Linked DNA regions of Homo sapiens: region 2 is linked to region 1. Evidence: promoter capture Hi-C in 16 types of primary human blood cells and fetal thymus (Javierre and others, 2016). All regions are on one chromosome and are shown on one strand. Each heading gives the region's core, a stretch centred on a gene start or on the middle of the fragment in contact. The rest is flanking DNA. Distances are from core to core; before and after follow the strand shown. Region 1 holds the start of ANKRD33 (ankyrin repeat domain 33). Region 2 overlaps SLC4A8 (solute carrier family 4 member 8).

The links. Contacts are between HindIII fragments. The CHiCAGO score rates a contact against its expected background, and 5 or more counts as called.
Region 2: a fragment that was not itself captured here is called in contact with the fragment with the promoter of ANKRD33 in region 1 in 1 of 17 cell types (M0 macrophages); the score reaches 5.9 in M0 macrophages.

What each region holds. Positions count from the first base shown.
Region 1 is chr12:51,886,672-51,889,441 of GRCh38, reverse strand. It overlaps ANKRD33 (ankyrin repeat domain 33), which reads right to left and starts at 1,339. Exons shown (of 5, transcript NM_182608.4): 1 at 1,111-1,339; 2 at 624-874; 3 at 246-375; 4 at 1-70. The coding sequence starts at 1,255. The HindIII fragment of the contact is 2,326 bases long and covers 94-2,419 here.
Region 2 is chr12:51,448,079-51,451,034 of GRCh38, reverse strand. It overlaps SLC4A8 (solute carrier family 4 member 8), which reads right to left. Exons shown (of 25, transcript NM_001039960.3): 3 at 13-159. Among named protein-coding and RNA genes, the nearest start is that of SLC4A8-AS1, 24 kb to the right of the region's middle. The HindIII fragment of the contact is 1,429 bases long and covers 689-2,117 here.

The DNA.
Region 1 (2,770 bases), core at 90-2,589:
CGCTGGTCCCGGCGTTCCAGGTCCAGGCCCACATAGTAGTTGAGCAGGAGACTCACTAGAGGCACGTGGCCTGCAGGGCAGCAAGGGTAAGCTTGGTCCCCAGGAAAGGGGGTGATGAAGCTCCCAAACCGCCCTCCACCCAGCATGACAGAGTCTGGTGTAGAACACCGTGCAACAAGGGTGGGGCTGAGGCCCTGTCTGCATCAAAAGGGGGCTGTCGGAAGTGGGGTGCAGCAGCCTCACACCTGCTTGGGCAGCCAACATGAGGGCCGTGTCCCCTCCTTTGTCCTGCTGGTTCACATCAAGGAAAGGACAGTGGCTGAGCAGGGCCACAACACTCTGGAAGCCGTGGTAGCATGCGACCATGAGGCCTGTCTGAGGGAGGGGCAGCTCAGATCCCCTGCTTTCCCCCTGGGCCACTCCAGGGCCCCTTGCACCCTCTAAACCCATATCTGTCCCAGAGCCTGCCCCAAACCCCGTGAAGACCCGCCCTTAACCATTCCCTTCCTCCTTAGGACTGCAGGAGGTATTGCCCCTGAACCCCTCTCAGGGAGCCAGGCCAGGACGGTGTGGTGGGGATGCAAAGATGCCCCCAGCTGTTCTGGGAAGCCAGGACATCTCACCCTCCCATTGCTGTCCACCTGGGTGGCCTCCTCTGGGGAGACCCCACCATCCAGTATGGCTTGGAGCTGGGTGGGATCATTGTGGACACAGGCCCAATACAGGGCCCCCAGCCTGCAGCCTGGGGTGGGGGTCTCCTTGCCCGGGCAGGGCAGTGCCTCAGACATGTCCAGCCGTCTCCTGTGCAATGCCAGCTCTTCCTCTTCCAGGCAGGGAACCAGAAGGTGAGTCCCTTTTCTCATGCAGCTGGCATCTAAAACACAGAATGGAGAGGAGTAGTGAGTGTCTCCCTGGATCCTAGGGAGGGGACCCAGCAGCTGCGAAGTGCACAGCCCTTGCCCCAGGGAAAACATTTATCCCAGCAGGGGTCTCGCCCCATCCACCCTGAGAAAGGACAAGCGCTGGGTCAGGAGCCCTAAGCAAGCAGGGTTCACTCTAGGTCAGCACCCCAGTGAGACTCACGGAGAGAGGGTCGTCGTTTTTTCTTACTTGGGGTTCGTAGGGTATCTATGAGGCAGTCAACGCGGGGCACAGCCCAGGCTCCGCGGAGCACAATCACTGGGTCTCCGAATGCCTCCAGGTGGACTATCCCTCCCCAGGAAGCAACGCAGGTAACAGATGGCTGGACTTTCATAAAGAGCTGCTGCAAACACCTCGGGGCTGAGCCGGATCAAGCAGCTGGGACTGGGGCCCCATGCGGGGCGGGTGGTCACGTCTCAGGAGCGGACTCAGACCAGCCCCAAGATCCTCCGGGTGGGCGGGGCCTGAGCCGGGCAGCTCCTCCCCGCCGGGGCGGGCTCACAAAGACGACTCCTCCTGACGGACGCGCCCACTCTCAGCCTTGGGGACGCCGGCGGAGATGCTGCCTCGTGGGGTCTTGGCCCAACTTTTTAGGCCCAGCCTAAAGCCCCTCCTAATTGGGTGGAGCGCGACTTGCTGAAGGGGTGGTTGCGGGAGAGGGGGTGAGTGAATGCAGGTATCTCATTAAATAGGGTTGGTACTCTCAGAATGACCCTGGGGTGGGGTCTCCAGGGGGGTCACCTGAACTTATTTTTTGAGGTTCTGGGGAAATAAAAACATAATTGTCAAATTATGAGTATAGAGCTGGGCCCGGTGGCTCACGTCTGTTATCCCAGCGACTCAGGAGGCTGAGGTGGGAGGATCGCTTGAGCCCGGGAGGTCGAGGCTGCAATGAACCGATGTCGCGCCACTGAACTCTAGCCTGGGCAACAGAGGGAGACCTCCTTTTAAAAAAAAATTGTGGCCAGGCGGGGTGGCTCACGCCTGTAATCCCAGCACTTTGAGATTCCAAGACGGGTGGATTATCTGAGGTCAGGAGTTCAAGAACAGCCTGGCTAACATGGCAAAACCCTGTCTCTACTAAAAATACAAAAATTAGCTGGGCTTGGTGGTGGGCGCCTGTAATCCCAGCTACTCAGGAGGCTGAGGCAGGAGAATCACTTGAACCCGGGAGGCAGAGGTTGCAGTAAGCCGGGATCGCACCATTGCTCTCCAGCCTAGGCAACAAGAGCGAAACTCCTTCTCAAAAAACAAAACAAACAAACAAACGAAATTGTGAGTACCGACATTATGTGTCTAGTGCAGGTGGGCAGTCGGGGCACAAAGTGCGGCAGGCAGTAGTGAGGGAGGGATTGGCCAGAAATTATGATGTATGAAATTTAATAGATTAGTTTCAGTGTGATAAATTAAATATGAAATATTTAAATTAAATGATCTGTTAATATAATGATAAATTGTTATCAAAATATTCTTTAATATTTATATTACATATTAAGCTTGATGGATTGGTCTTGGTCCACAGATGTAGAAAATGGAGCCAATGATATTCCCCCATTGGTATCACTCCCATCATCAGACTGTACAAGACCTCTCTCTTGTTTTGTTTTACTTTCTTTAGTTTCTCTCTTTCACCCTTAATCCCCACATCCCATTCTCCTCCACCCTTTACCAACTGGCACTTGTATATCCTTGAAAATGTACATTTCATTGAAAAAGATAGTACTGATTTGTGTGTTTTTATTTTATTTTTTTCTTTTTAGAAACAGGGTCTTACTCTGTCACCTGGGCTGGAGTGGAGTGGCATGATCATAGCTTACTGCAGCCTCAAACTCCTGGGCTTAAGTGATTC
Region 2 (2,956 bases), core at 154-2,653, 440 kb after region 1:
CAAGGCCCTTACCGTGGGCCAGGGCTTCCAGGCCTTCCTCCCCCTGGCTGGCTCCTTTGCCCCGCCCTCGTCTCCGGTGCTTCTGGCCATGAGTGCGGTGATGCCGATGGCTCTGCCGGCCAAGCGGCATCCGAACTCCCACATACAGAGTTCTGTGACCTGGAAAGAAGCAGAAGGTCTGTGGAGAGAACTCCTTTAGTTTTAAAAAACAACAACAACAAAAAGCCTAGCATAGTTAAGAGAAAAAAATATCACAGTTCTTTGGTCTGGTCACAGCTCTGGAACAACAAAACTTCAAAGACTTCCAGGAGTAAAGATATAGAGATTTTGGAGTTGAAGGTCTCTTCCTTTGTCCTGCACATGCCTGCAAACTTCACAGGGATCTTGTGAAGACTGAAAGAAATAATGTGATTTCCAAACTGTAAAGGCTGATTCAGATGTTATTGTTATGACAATGACAATGACAATTTGACTGAGTGATTTTTTTAAAAGGCAATACAGTTGCTCTATGACAAGTGTGGCAGGTCTTGGCAGGGAGGCAGTTTAGAAAAGTCGTTAAGAGCACAGGTAAGGCTCAAATCAGCCCACCTGGGTCCAAAACTCAATTCCATCATTCACTTGCCATGTGACCTTGAACAATTTATCTAATCTCTCTGTGACTCATCTTTAAGAAGAAATATTAAAAGCTTAGTATTTAAACTCAGAGTTTTCATAAGCAGTAAATAAGGTTATGCATGCAAAATGCTTAACACATGCCTGGAATAAATTGTAGCAGCCTAGGATGTATTCATCCTAGGATCAGCTTCCATTATTTTATTTTCTACATTGTAGCATACACAATCTAGAACAGTACTAAAAGAGACTAGTTGTAAGTCATGAGGAGGGTGAGGCTAAGGTTAAAAAAAGACATTAAATACTGTACAAAGAGAGGGGAACATGAGAAAATAAGTGACCCAATAGTGTTCCCTCCCTAGTTCCTCTGCTCCTATTTCTTCTTTTTCTTCTTGAGACAGTATCTCACTCTGTCACCCAGGCTAGAGGGCAGTAGCCTGGTCATATCTTACTGTAGCCTTGAACTCCTGGGCTCAAGCAATCCTCCCACCTCAGTCTCCCAAGTAGCTAGGAATACATGTGTGCACCACCACACCCAGCTAATTTTTCAATTTTTTGTAGAGATGGGGTCTCGCCACGTTGCCCAAGCTGATTGCCCCAAGCAATCCTACTGTCTCCACCTCGAAAGCACTGGGTTTACAGGCATGAGTCACCACATCTGGCCTCATTCCTTCTATAAGCCTGCTTTTGTTTTGATCCAGATTTCCAGATCTCTGTCACCTCTACCTGGCTTTCCCTTGCCTTCCTGCCAAACCTGGAGCCCAGAATTTGGGGCTGCTGATGCTCCCATGCCCAATGCACCATGCCTTGGTCTTCTCCCATTTCTGCCTGGTTACTGCTGCTCAGCACTCTAGATCTCAGACCCATTCCCCACATCTTCCACCAAAGGAGCTGTTCTAATCCTTAGCCACTGTCTTCAAATCCACAACCTTATCCACATTCCTTCCTGCTGAGAGCAGGTGACTTTGCATCAGTTTTTTTTTTTTTCCTTTCTTTTTTAGATAGGGTCTCACTCTGTTGCCCAGGCTGGAGTGTGGTGTTATGATCACCACTCATGGTAGCCTTGAATTCCCAAGTTCAAGTGATCCTCCCATGTAGCTGGGACCACAGGCGTGTACCACCACGCCCAGCTAATTTTTTTGATTTTTAGTAGAGACAAGTCCTGCCATGTTGCCCAGGCTTGTTTCAAACTCCTGAGCTCAAGCGATTCTCCTGCCTTGGCCTCCCAAAGTACTGGGATTACAGGTGTGAATCACTGCACCCAGCCCTCACTTCAGTTTTTCCTGAGAAGAGATGGAAGAAGTTCTTCTCTTCCTCAGTCTGGCTTGCTCTCCTCTGCCAAGCTGGGTATGTTAATGAGTATGACTCTATCCCATTGTCTCCCACCCCTCTGGTATCCTGTTGCTTCTGTTATCCTCAGTCTCTCCTTTCCATCCATCCCTGCCATAGGTTTCTCCTGACTTCTTAAAAAGAAACCTTCCCAAGCAGTGCTACCCACCCAAGCTTCTGCTGTTTCCTCTTTCCTTCTTTATCAAACCACTTCCAAAAACAGTCACAACCTAACTCCCTTTCCTCACCACTTCCTTGTTCCACAGCCTCTGCATATGGCTTCTGACCCCAGTCTCTGCTGAAGCTTCCCTCATTAGGGACACCACACCACTCATTCACCAAATCTCTATCATCTTACATCTCTCTCAGCTTAGTTCAAAAGACTTTCTTGAGAGCCCACCACGTTGCAGGCAGTATCCAAACCACTTGGGTGCTCTGGGCTCCCTGAGCTCCGGTGCCACTGCCCTCCCCTGGTTCACTTGCACTACTCTGACTGTGCTGCTCCATCCCCCAACAAGCCACCAAAGGAAAGCTCCTCAAGTTTCTGTCCTTGGCCCTTTTCTTCCTTTTTAGTGCTAAACACTCTTCTGTTTTCAAAATTCACTTCTACAAATGACCTTCAAATCTCTATCTACAATGATTGAACATGTCACAAAGCAAACTCACCATCCTCCATCTCAAATCGGTCTTATACTCATTCCATGTTTCTGTTCATGGCCTTGTCATTCTCTCAATTTCCTAGGCTTGAAACCGAGCGTTACCTTAGATTTTCAACTCCATTCCCTTTCTCCCTCACCGTACTTTCTATAGATTAGGGCCATCAAAACTCCCACTTTAACAAAGCAGGGGCCCCTTCCTGCCTCTCACATTAAATTAACCCTGCAAACAAATCCTCCTAGTTACATCTCTGATCATGGCTCACCCATATGAATTCAGGACCTTCATGCTCAGTACTCAATCTCCTTTTTAATCTTTTCTTCTTTTAATACCAATTATACATTCAGTGGGAAAATAA